Regions from separate parts of the Homo sapiens genome. Here regions 1, 2 and 3 are each linked to region 4. The links are contacts of gene promoters, found by promoter capture Hi-C in human tissues and cell types (Jung and others, 2019). All regions are on one chromosome and are shown on one strand. Each heading gives the region's core, a stretch centred on a gene start or on the middle of the fragment in contact. The rest is flanking DNA. Distances are from core to core; before and after follow the strand shown.

Region 1 (3,088 bases), core at 159-2,658, 430 kb before region 4:
TTCTTTAATAACTTACGAAATAATTATGTGGACCTTCAGATATATAGGCTATACAAAGTTGCAAAGATTAATAACATTTACTTTCACAGAAATTTGAATTTTAGGCCGGGCACAGTGGTTCACACCTGTAATCCCAGCACTTTGGGAGGCCAAGGCAGGCAGATCACCTGAGATCAGGAGTTCAAGACCAGCCTGGCCAACATGGTGAAACCCCATCTTTACTAAAAATACAAAAATTAACCGGGCGTGGTGGCGGGCACCTGTAATCCCAGCTATTCAGGAGGCTGAGGCAGAAGCATCACCTCCACCCAGGAGGTGGAGATTGCAGTGAGCCAAGATGGCGCCATTGCACTCCAGCCTGGCCAACAAGAGCGAAACTCTGTCTCCAAAAAAAAAAAAGAAAGAAAAGAAATTTGAATTGTAATGCAATAATTAGAGGCAGAAAGGAAGGAAGAAACATATTGACTTCTATAAACATTTATATGTTGGTATCTATTTTAAGAACTGGTTTGGTTTATAGGGAAAAGAAGAGAAAAGAGTAGCTAAAGTGTATCCTGGGATTGGAGGTCATTTTGGGTTAGCCTTATTTCACTGCCATCTTCTCAGTGGGTTTTTAGAAGGTAGAGCTAGTGGCCTGCATAAAAGTTGCGTTTTTCGGCTGGGCATGGTGACGCATGCTTATAATCCCAGCCCTTTGGGAGGCCAAGGCAGGCATATTGCTTGAGCTCAAGAGTTTGAAACCAGCCTGGGCAACATGGCAAAACCCCATCTCTGCAAAAATTTAAAAAAAAAATTAGCTGGGCATGGTGGCGCAGATCTGTGGTTCCAGCTACTTAGGAGGCTGAGGCACAAGAATCACTGGAGCCTAGGAGGCAGAGGTTGCAGTGACCCATGATTGTGCCACTGCACTCCAGCCTGGGTGACAGAGTGAGACTCTGTCTCCAAAAAAAAGTATTTTTCGTTGGCATCAGGAGTCATTTTAGATACTTGCTTTGAGTGTGTGTTTTGTTCATCTGTCTTTATGTATGTCATTTATCAGTTTATCTACATTTATTAATTATGAAGCAAAAATTTTACTATGGCAATGTCTTCAATTATATAAGAAATAGAACAGAAGTAGTAATCAAAAGTAGAGAATTTTCCTTTTTGGGGTAGCTTTACAAGAATTGCATCTCTTCTGAGTATTGGTGGGGTTTTGTCATTTCTTTTGCCTTATACTTTTTATCATTTCTAAAATCTAAGGCCTTCACCCGCTAACCTAAGTTTGACTTCTGATTGTTGGAGGATGCTTGTGATTATTTCAGAAAAAAGCATAGTATTCTTTAAAATTATTTGTCAAATTATCCTAAGTAATAAACAAGGAATAACAGATTTTAATATAATATAATATTAGAATCAATCTCTAATTACAGGTTTGTATAATTTTACTCACCTTCTAAAACAGAACAATTGTATCAAATTTTACGTTGTCATTCTCTTGTGAAAGTTCTAGTAAGTAATGAAATGGTCAAAAAGACATGGGGAAGACTAATAAAATCACAAGGGAAAACTTCAGATTGGGGTGGTTTGAGAAGTATGAATAAAACTAAACTCATTGGAGTTACATGGATGGATTGGGGCTGATCTTGTGTGTTTGAAATAGTTTTCAATTTATGACATCATGTGATGTGTGTTTTTTTTTCCAGCTGTAAAACTACCATAGAAGCTATCCATGGATTGATGTCTCAGGTTATTAAGGATAAACTGTTTAATCAAATTAACATCTCTTAAACAGTCTCTGAGAAGTACTTTACCTGAAAGACAGTATGAGAAAAATATTCAAGTAACACTTTAAAACCAGTTACCCAAAATCTGATTAGAAGTATAAGGTGCTCTGAAGTGTCCTAAATATTAATATCCTGTAATAAAGCTCTTTAAAATGAAATTGTCCTTTGATTTTTTTGTGGGAAGATTCGCAATATTTTTCTAGTATCCATTACGGTTCTTGAATATGAGAGAAAATATATTTATTAGAACTTTCTATTTTTAAGTTTAGACTATCTAAATTAGTCAATTTCAGCATTTCACTTGCCATACTGATTGTCAGAACCACTTTTCAATTTGTCCCTTCTTTTGACTGTCTGTAAGTAAAATATAATTTAACAGTTCATTATTTTAATAATGTATTAGGAACACTTTTAATGTTCCTACAAAACATTAGCTGAGTAGTACCATAAATTATTTTCCTGAAAATCAAATACTTATTAGAGACAGCCTAGCACAGGGTATCTAGTCCTTCAAATATTCATCACATACCTTTCCTGAGCTGGTGACTGTTACTCTCTGGAAATATGCTGAACAAGCTAGACATGGCCACTGTCCTCACAGAACTTCTGGAGGCTAAAGCTTAATTAACAAGAACTTAAAGATACTGCTGTGAGGGGAGAAATAAAGTGTGTTGGGGACTCATGGGGAGGAATGCATGTCCTCAAGAGGGGTTAGCAAAGTTGGCTTCCTGAAGGATGTGGCCTGACCATTAAGTTGAAACATGAAAGGATTAGCCAGAAGAGAGTAACAGGGAGGTGGTTACTATTACAGGCAGGGAGTACAGCAGTGTGTAGAAGCTCAGAGGTAGAAAGCAAGAACCTAGAACCTTCAAGGAAATGAGATTCAGTTAGACTTAAGATTGGTAAGTAGGGCCAAGCATGGTGGCTCACGCCTGTAACCCCAGCACTTTGGGAGGCTGAGGCAGGAGAATTGCTTGAGCTCAGCAGTTCGAGACCAGCCTGGGGTAACATGGCAAAACGCCATCTCTACTAAAAGTACAAAAAAATACCCAGGTGTGGTAGTGCGCGCCTGTGGTCCCAACTACTTGGGAGGCTGAGGTGGGAGGATCGCTTGAGCCAGTGGCAGGGGGTTGGGGGTGCAGTGAGCCGTGATCGCACCACTGTACTCTAGCCTGGGTGACAGAGTGAGACCCTGTCTGAAAAAAAATATATATGTGTGTGTGTGTGTGTGTGTGTGTGTGTGTGTGTGTGTGTGTGTGTGTGTGTGTATGTGTATGTGTATATATATGTATATATGTCAGTAGGACTTGGGGAGTGACAAG
Region 2 (3,223 bases), core at 215-2,714, 460 kb before region 4:
TAATCCCAGAACTTTGGGAGGCCGAGGCAGGCGGATGGCTTGAGCTAGCGAGTTCGAGACCAGACCAGCCTGGGCAACATAGCGAAACACCACCTCTACAGAAAATATATGTATATAAAAAAAAGTTAGCCAGCATGGTGGTGCTCACCTGTGGTCTCAGCTACTTGGAGGCTGAGGAGGGAGGATGAATCACTTAAGCCTGGACAGTGGAGGTTGCAGTGAGCCAAGATTATGCCACTGCACTCCAGCCTGGGCGACAAAGTAAGATCCTGTCTCAAAAAAAAAAGATGTTAAGGAGAAAAAGAAATTAATATTTATTGTGTACCAATTACGTGCCAGCCATCTTTTCACGTATTTAACTTTCGCCCATAACGACTTTTTGAGATAGATGTCATAAGATAAGGAAACAAAGTGTAGCTCCTGACAGGTCATAAAGGCATCACAGCCCAATCCAAAGCAAGCTGTAACCCTAGAATTTAAAAGGGATTCTGTCTAACCTTAGCGACCTTAGTGCTTGAGATAACCTACTATTAAACTTTTTAAAAATTATCTCTTGGAATAATTAAAATTTAGATTCATAAAAACGTAGGGCTGGAAGATAATCAAACTTATTTCACAGAAAAAAAATTGAGAGCCTTAGAGATTAAAAAATTTTACCAATATATAATACTTTAGTTCACTAATGCTGTATATTAATAATTTATAAGAGATTCAAAATGGAAAGAGTTATCTATCTGATATTAAAAGTAGGGCACTCACTTTGAGCTATTTGTCTAATGCAGAGACAAAGCTTACTGACTATCCAGTTTCTTGGCCGGCATCCCCTTGTATCCACTGGCACACAAAAACAATTTAGGAGTATACCTACATCCATGAAAAGCTGTCCATTTGAGAACAATGCTTTAATCAAATGAACTTATCATAGTTGATTTTCTTTTTGTGAAAAAGTTTGTCATCATCAATAAATCACAAAATGCACATTGAAAATATTCATACAGGTCGGGCACAGTGGCTCACGCCTGTAACCCCAGCTTTGGGAGGCCGAGGCGGGCAGGCAGATCACCTGAGGTCAGGAGTTCGAGACCAGCCTGGCCAACACTGCGAAACCCTGTCTCTACCAAAAATATAAACAATTAGCTGAGTGTGGTGGCATGCGCCTGTAATCCCAGCTACTTGAGAGACTGAGACAGGAGAATCGCCTGAACCTGGGAGGTGGAGGCGGCAGTGAGCCGAGATCGTGCCACTGCACTCCAGCCTGGGCGACAGGGTCAGACTCAGCCTTGAAGAAAAAAAAAAAAAATTATATATATTCATACAGACTGGGCATGGTGGCTCAGGCCTGTAATTGTAGTACTTTGGGAGGCCAAGGCAGGAGGATTGCTTGAACCCAGGAGTTCAAGATAACACTGAACTATGATCATGCCACTGCACTCCAGCCTGAGTGACAGAGAGAGAGAGAGAGAGACCCTGTCTTTAATAAATAAACAAAAATTTTTACATATTCATACATTTTCTTTTTTTAAAATGTATACCTACCAACAAGCCAAAATGTGGTAAAAAGTTTCCAAATATTTTCATACCATACCATAATCAAAGCATTAGTATGGCTACAGTATTAACTTCTTTACAATTCCAACATGATCATCAATAATTAAAATAGTCTTTCACCAAACAGCATTTTGTACCCTTTAAGCATATTTCTTTAATTTTTAAATAAGCAAGTTCACCATTTTCAATCAACAAATAAAAGTTTCTCTTCTCTCTCTCTCTCACACACACAAATTCCTTTCAAAGTTTTCAATTTTTAAGTTATGTTATACACACCTTCTTCTATAAGTTCCATAAATCATAACCAATGCAGTATCACATAAAACAAGTACAAAGTTTTCAGTATGAGTTCTATTTCATATGTAGACCATATTGACTTACGTAAGATTCCAGAAAGAAAAACTACTAGGATTCCAAATAAATCTTTTTTTCTGACAAGACAAACCTCTTTCAGAAGAGCCCACTAAGGATATCTTAAAATAAGTTTAGCACATCTAATGACATACCTAAGGAACCCCTGGTCTGTTGACTATTTGGTGGTATGTTTTCCTTAGCCATAGAGATCAGTATCTTACTGTTTTCAGAAAGCTTCGCTGACAACTTTCCCTGAAAGAGACATAATGTTTACAAAAGCAAGAGGAAAAAAAAAACCATGAAATATACAACTCATCTCAAATTTTAATTAAACAGCTTGATGAAATTACACAGTACATCATAGAAGAAATTAAGTGTAAGGTTTGAGGAATTAGCCAAAGGTATTTTAATTTTATAATAGATATTCTAATATTTAACTCATTCACTTACCAACAAATATTTACTGAGTTCCCATTAAGTGCCAAACATTTTGTCAAGCATTGAAAGTATAAGAGTTTTAAAAAATAGAAGAATTTCTGCCATCATGAAGCTTATAAACTATTGGGGGGACACATAATGAACTCAACACATGATTAGATTATGTGATATGTAGATAGTGGCAGGAAGTGGTTATGGAAAAAAAAAAAAGCAGATTAAAGTAAGGAGGCCCAGAAATGCTGGGGGACTATAAGGCCTCACTGAGCAGGTGATACTTGAACTAAGACTTAAAATTATTTATGTACAAATTAATGTTAGAAATTATAACAAAACTGTCTTTAAAGCTATGTACTCCAAATCATGTAACTCCAAAGCCGTAAGCTGGTCCTAACTACTGGAGAGTGGTTAAGAGATAGACTCTGGAGCTGCATAAAGGTTCCACTCCTGAATCCACCACTGTGTGGACCTGGACAAATTACTTAACTCCTGTGAGCTTCACTTTCTTAATCCATAAAACAAAAAAAATTCACCTGCTTAACAGGGATATTATGATTAAATAAAATGATACATATAAAGTCCTTGGCATTCCTGGTACATGACAGGTTATCTGGAAGAAAGGCAACCTATTATGTTGGTTCCGAGGACAAGCACTGAAGCCAGGCTGCCAGGGGTCAAAGCCTAGTTCCACCAACTCTACTGCCTTAGTCTCATTACTTAACTTGCCTCAGTTTACTCATCTGGAAAATTACAATAACAGCACTTACCTCATAGATTACTGTGAAATATAACCTCTTAAGAATATGCCTTGTCCATAGCTAGTACTCAATAAATGTTAGCCATGTGAGTAAAATTGTAATCAGGGTATCTATATTATTTATCATCT
Region 3 (3,121 bases), core at 538-3,037, 410 kb before region 4:
GAGGAAAGGATGGAGTACAGGCTGTATTCTGAATCAGATAATTCCTTTCCTGGTCTGTTATTGGGAAAAGGTGGTTGTTGGGCACTGAAACGGTCAAAGCCGATGGCAGGATAATCCGGTAGGGGGAAATGGTGGTCTGCCAAAAATTGTTCCGGCTACTAACTGGTCCACTAAAACAATGCGGTGACCGATGCCTCACGGCCTCTTCAAGCTAACAGGACTCTAGTCGGAGTCGGCCTAGTGACCACCGTCAGTGCCCATCAGCGCCCGGCCGCCGCCTCACAGGGGAAGGACCCACCGGGGAGGGAGCAGCCTGCGATGTCGCGAGATTTCTCGTGAGCGGCGCTTGGACAGCGCGTCTGGTCGCCCAGCAACCGCCGCTGGTCTGCGTAGGGACCCGGCGCCGATGAAACCGACCAAACTGGAGTTAGCTACCGGACTGTCCCGCGAGCGGTGAGCTGCCCGCGGGGAATAAGCGTGGGGACCGAGGAAACCCTAGAACCATGTTTCTCAAACTTGCCTGCCAGTAAGACTTTCCGGGACATTTGTTAAAATGCAGATCCTTGGGCCCTATCTTTAGACATACAGAATTTCCAGAAAAAATAGTCTGGAAGTCTGTGTTTTTAACAAATGGTTAGCTGGCAAGATTGTGAAACAGCTCTAGAGGAGGGAGACACAGGTGGAGGGGTGGTCGCGGGGCTGAGGAAGCAGCCCGGTGGGCGTGGAGCTGAGTTTGAAAGGGAAGGGTTTTGAAAAGCCTGAGGGCTGGAGCCAGTGATTTAGAGCATCTGGAAGCCACTGAGCCTGTGGCCTAAGTGGAAGTATAGATACTAACAGAATTCAGAAAACGTTGTCCACTGCCTCTAGTCTGTGGGAATTCCAGTAGATGAAAGCCAAGGGGTCCATTAAAATGGATTCCACCCATGTAAGAAACCTGCACATGTACCCCCCAAACCGAAAAGCTGGAAAACAACAACAAAACGAACAAACAAAAAAACAAAAAACACCAACAAAAAGCTAACAATAAAATGGATCCCTAGAGCCTGTAAAGAAGCTCTAAGCTGTTCCCACCGGTGGCCTGGGAGAGAGAGATCTAGTAAGAGGAGTCCCAAAGTAACACGAGATATCTAGAAGGTGGAAAGTAGGCAAAAGCAGTTTCTCAAACTTTAGAACACAATCTCTTTTAAAAGAAAACCAAAGACACTTCACAAGTGCGGACATTATTTTTATTATAATGTTCTAAAATATATCCAAATCCACTTTAGGTTCAGTTTAAGCTCCTGAAGCTTTTAATTTTCTAAAACAATAAAAACTACCAATACAGTTTAAATTAATATTGTTTTTAACAAGATGAATGGTGGTGTTTTGATGAAACTAAATTCTTTCTTATGGACTGCTACAATGCAAATTCTTTTGAGTTAACAGTCTATTATTTTGTGTTGTGGGTTGATTCAGTTCTCTCCTTTTCCATATTCAAGCCCCTAGAAAGTTTTCCTATAGCTTGCTGATGAGGTCCATTGACCTTCCCTTGGTTTAATAAATACTTCACTTACATACAAAGTTTGCCTCTGTCCTTTTCCAAAATTATCTAAGGTCATTAATTTTTATCTATGTGAACACCAGTTTATACACTGAAATCTATAGACGGAATCCATTTCTAAAGTGAAAGTATTAAGAATATGTCATTTCAAAATATGCTGCTCTGGCATATTGACTATATTTAGATAAAAGCACTTGAAAAATTGCTGGGCATGGTGGCTCACACTTGTAATCCTAGCACTTTGGGAGGCTGAGGCGGGCGGATCACTTGAGATCAGGAGTTCCAGACCAGCCTGGCCAACATAGCAAAACCCCATCTCTACTAAAAATACAAAAATTAGCCAGGCGTGGTGGTGCATGCCTGTAATCCCAGCTGCTCGGGAGACTGAGGCAGAAGAATCGCTTGAACCCAGAAGGCAGAGGTTGCAGTGTGCCGAAATCGCACCACTGAACTCCAACCTGAGCAACAGACCAAGACTCCATCTCAGGAAAAAAAAAAAAAAAAAGCACTTGAAAAATGACAGGTAAAAGACGATTGCTCTGACTTTTATTCTGTTTTTTGTTTTTTGTTTTGAGACAGGTTCATGCTCTGTTTCCCAGGCTGAAGTGCAGTGGCGCAATCACAGCTCACCACAGCCTTGACTTCCCAGGCTCAAGCAATCCTCCTGCCTCAACCTCCCAAATAGCTGGGACCACAGGCGTGTACCACCATGCCCGGCTCATTTATTTTTGTAGAGACAGGGGTCTCGCCATGTTGCTCAGGCTGGTCTCGAACTCCTGGGCTCAAGCAATCCTCCCACCTCAGCCTCCCAAAGTGCTGGGACTACAGGTGTGAGCCAACACACCCTGCCTGTTCTTTTTCTTAAAAGCAGGAGAATAAATTTTTATGTGAAAGATTTCCTCCCTATACTAGAAAGTATCATTCTTACCATCAAGGACTAGAAGCTGAAGCCAAGGAAAAGCTGTACAAACAAATGTTTTTACAGGAACCCTTCACCAATCAACTACCCTAGCCCTAGCCCAAGCTCCTTTACCTTGTCACATTTTCTTTTTTCTTTTTTTTTTTGAGATGGAGTTTCACTCTTGTTGCCCAGTCTGGAGTGCAATGGTGCAATCTTGGCTCACCACAACCTCTGCCTCCTGGGTACAAGCGATTCTCCTGCCTCAGCCTCCCGAGTAGCTGGGATTACAGGCATATGCCACCATGCCCGGCTAATTTTTTTGTATTTTTAGTAGAGACAGGGTTTCATCATATTGGTCAGGCTGGTCGCAAACTCCTGACCTCAGGTGATCCACCCACCTCGGCCTCCCAAAGTGCTGGGATTACAATCATGAGCCACCGCGCCCGGCCACATTTTCACAATTTACTATGCTCTTATTTTTTCTTTTTTTTTTTTTTTGAGACGGAGTCTCACTCTATCGCCCAGGCTGGAGCGTAGTGGTGCGATCTGGGCTCACTGCCACCTCTGCCTCCCAGGTTCAAGCGATTCCTCTGCCTCAGCCTCCTGAGTAGCTGGGATTATAGGCATGTGCCACCACGCCCAGCTAATTTTTGTATTTTTAGTAGAGATGAGGTGTCACC
Region 4 (3,157 bases), core at 57-2,556:
GAACTGTTAAAAAAAAAAAAGCCAGTGTGTTTAGGTTTTGACAGCAGTGCATGCAAGCTTCTCTCTTAATTCAGCTCCTCTTAATTCACTCTGCACCTGCATCTGATTTGCAAAAGATGAAGCGTAAAATTTCAAAATAGCAAGTGTTTGTTACAGTGTTAACATGTGGCTCAGTGCTCTATGCAATAGACCATGTTGCCTTGCAAATTTTCCTTAGCCAAGTGTAATTGTTACTGTAGCAAATCTACTTTAATGCTACTTGAAATGAACAGTTCGTAGTTATTAGACTGGAACCTCAAGTAGCTGCAACCGCTAGAAACTCCTCCGGTGGTTCCCCCCTCCCTGGTCTCTCCAGAGGGAAGAAGGTCACCTTCTACACTTAACTACCATGCTCATTCATCTGGACGAAATGCCCAGTCCACTGTCTTCTTCACGCGTTATTCTCCAGGACAGGGCTCCTCCGCCGCGCACGTTATTTCCTGTAGAGCGGGCACGAAATTAAGCACCTTGAAGACCAGCGGTAGACACAGATTATCTCCGGTTCCAAGCACGTCTCCCGCTAGGAACTTTTTTCACTTGTCACTCTTCTGCTGCTTTTTGAGGAAAACAGGTGATATTTGGTTTCCTGCCAGAGTCTTCGTCACTCTCGTAACTATGATGTCTGGGTAAAAATAGCTCACATTTTTGCTTAAAAAATAACGGCCGCGCAAATTTATGGTTAGATTTGTCTCAAGTCTGAAGACCGCGCATCCTAACTAGTGAGGCGGAAGACACCTAAGGAGCCAGGAGCTGTCGCCGAGGCGAGGCTGCGGAGACGTTCCCTTGGTGGGCCGCGGGACCACCCACCCCGCCAGAAACTCGGTTCGCTCACCCTAAGAATTTTGGGGCAACTGGACTTCTCCACCGCCCGCTTCCGGACCCGCTCCGGCGCCGCTTCCGGACCCACTCCTCGGCGAGCGCAGGAACTCGCTCTCCCAGCAGGCCCCGCGCGGTGCGCCTCTCGGCGCGTTCCGGGTCCTATGACAGCTCGGCTCGCATGCGCCACCTACGGCCCCACCCGCGGCCCCACCCCCTGGCTCCCGGCTCCTTCCCCGACTCCCGCGAGTTCCAGTCCCAGCTTCCAGCTCCCCAGCCCCGCCCTCAGCCGCGCGCGCTCTCCCCTCCCCGCCCTCGCTTCTTCGCGTGCGGCCCCCACAGCCAATGAGGTTCAGGGCCGCGTGCGCAGATTCAAACGGCGGCTCTTGAGGGAGGCTGGGCGCGAGATTCGGCGGTGCGGACAAAACCCTGCAGGAGACTGCGAGCCCTGCAGAACTGCTAGCTGCGGGGGAGAGGGCAGGGGTCGGGCGCCTGTGGCGGAGCCGGGCTGGGGCCAGGGCAGGGAGGCTGACAAGCGGCGGGAGAAGCCGGCGGAGGGCGGGATCGCGCCTCCTGACATGTTGGGGGTATCCCTGGCCGGGCCGGGCCGGGGCTAAGAGCGGCGCTGCGGGCCGGGGTCGGGGTCGGGTCGCGGTCCGCCCCCGCTGTCCCTCCGTCCTGCCCTGTCGAGGACGTGCGTTCCGCACTCGGCCGCCTCCAGAGGGAGCGAGGGAAGCGGCTAGAGGATCGGGGAGAAGGAGCATTCGCCGGAGGCTGGAGGAGGCTGACCCGCGTCCCCGCCCAGCCTGCTCCTATGCGGTACTTGAAGGATGGCGAAGAGGTCGCGCAGGTGGGTGGCACCCCTTTCGCCCAGGCCTGTCGGCGCCGTCTCGGCTCAGATTCTCTTTCCTATCCCGCTGCCCCCTCCCGCCATAAGGCCCTCCCTGGCGAGGGCAGAGGTTTTTCTTCCCGCGTCCCCGCGGCCGCTTGGCCTCGATGACCGGAGGGCAGCTGCGACGTGTGGAGAGTTGGGGACCAGGGTGTTTGAGGCGCGGGACGTAAGAGATGCCCAGGTTTCTCGGTGACTCTCCCCGTAATGCGCGTCCAGATTTCTGACCTCATGCTGCCACTTCTTCGAGGCAGGTTTCTTGCCAGGTAAGTCGAGCGCTTTTAGGGAGTCCGCTACGCAGAGAAAACTGACTGTGTCCTGCCGGGAGGACTTGAAAATGGTGTTCGGGCGACTCTTTTCTGAATGACGGTACAGTCAAAATAGGAACTCCGCGGTGAACCTGGGCGGCCACCCCTCTGCCAACTTGGCTATCTTGAAACGTTGTGGAAAATCCTCTGGGGAATAGCTGAGAGGACTTTTTTGATGTTTTCTGTAATTCCTATACCCATATGCTCAGCTTTATGTATATATGTATATTTTAATATCCTCTCTTGGGACCATGTCACATAGTAACAACTAGTAGTAACAACTAGTAGCTTGATCTTGAAATAAAACAATGTGTTTGATTCACTTAATATTTTGAGTGTCTGTGTTTGGCTCTGACCGTACCTAAGTGTTCCACAGAGGTAAGGCACTTTTTTCCACCTTTGCCTGGAAAATGTGCTAGGATGAATTTATGCATCTAATTTTCGTTTACATGCCATTACAGCAGCTACTCATAAATTATGTGGAGTAATTGCTTAGATAACAAAAATATAGGATGTCTTCCGATTTTCAGCATTATCAAATAAACCTGAAAAGATGTTTGGCAGGATTTCCAAATATTTATTTATCTAGATCCACAGCCCCAAAATCTTAACTAGAGATGTATTTCCTAAGTTGAAATTTAGTAATGGGGGTCATTCATTGCAGAGTTCTGCTAAAAATTGGCAGTAACTATACATAATTGTTTTTTCCTTAGTTTTCTGTTAAGCATCTGCTGTGTGCAGGATGCTTCTGCAGAAATCCTTAAGTCTCTGTAAGCTTATTAGTTTTGAAGTAAGTTATAGGACAAACTCTTGAGATGAAATAAATGTGTACACAGACCCCTCTAAAACTGTTTTCAGCCTTTGCACTATTGACATCTTGGACCAGATAATTCTTTGTAATGGGGAGATGTTTAGCAGCATCGCTGGCTTCTACCCAGTAGAGATAGTAACACTCCACTTCCCTCAGTCATGACAGTAAAAATGTCTCCAGACATTGCCAAATATCTTTTGGGGGACAAAATCACCCAGGAAAGAACCACCCTTCTAGAACTTCAAGGACCCAATTAACATCAATCTTCAGAAAAGATAGATATTTAAAGCTCTT

What was found. Contacts are between HindIII fragments. The study calls those that stand out against the background at their distance.
Region 1: a contact is called between a fragment that was not itself captured here and the fragment with the promoter of MYBL1 in region 4, in 1 of the 25 tissues and cell types used here (H1 embryonic stem cells).
Region 2: a fragment that was not itself captured here is called in contact with the fragment with the promoter of MYBL1 in region 4 in 1 of the 25 tissues and cell types used here (dorsolateral prefrontal cortex).
Region 3: a fragment that was not itself captured here is called in contact with the fragment with the promoter of MYBL1 in region 4 in 1 of the 25 tissues and cell types used here (hippocampus).

The regions. Positions count from the first base shown.
Region 1 is chr8:67,041,915-67,045,002 of GRCh38, reverse strand. COPS5 (COP9 signalosome subunit 5) reads left to right here. Exons shown (of 8, transcript NM_006837.3): 8 at 1,686-1,924. The coding sequence ends at 1,770. Among named protein-coding and RNA genes, the nearest start is that of PPP1R42, 15 kb to the right of the region's middle. The HindIII fragment of the contact is 4,464 bases long and covers 1-3,088 here.
Region 2 is chr8:67,075,413-67,078,635 of GRCh38, reverse strand. CSPP1 (centrosome and spindle pole associated protein 1) reads right to left here. Exons shown (of 31, transcript NM_001382391.1): 3 at 2,055-2,154. Among named protein-coding and RNA genes, the nearest start is that of CSPP1, 13 kb to the right of the region's middle. The HindIII fragment of the contact is 3,037 bases long and covers 1-2,982 here.
Region 3 is chr8:67,025,823-67,028,943 of GRCh38, reverse strand. It overlaps PPP1R42 (protein phosphatase 1 regulatory subunit 42), which reads left to right and starts at 390. Exons shown (of 8, transcript NM_001364910.1): 1 at 390-453. LOC105375885 (a long non-coding RNA gene) reads right to left here and starts at 366. Exons shown (of 4, transcript XR_929017.2): 1 at 299-366. The HindIII fragment of the contact is 6,535 bases long and covers 1-3,121 here.
Region 4 is chr8:66,611,367-66,614,523 of GRCh38, reverse strand. It overlaps MYBL1 (MYB proto-oncogene like 1), which reads left to right and starts at 1,306. Exons shown (of 16, transcript NM_001080416.4): 1 at 1,306-1,705. The coding sequence starts at 1,686. It overlaps LOC105375884 (a long non-coding RNA gene), which reads right to left and starts at 975. Exons shown (of 2, transcript XR_929015.3): 1 at 872-975; 2 at 1-479. RefSeq lists enhancers at 460-509, 520-599, 650-789 and a silencer at 1,020-1,539. The HindIII fragment of the contact is 9,266 bases long and covers 1-3,157 here.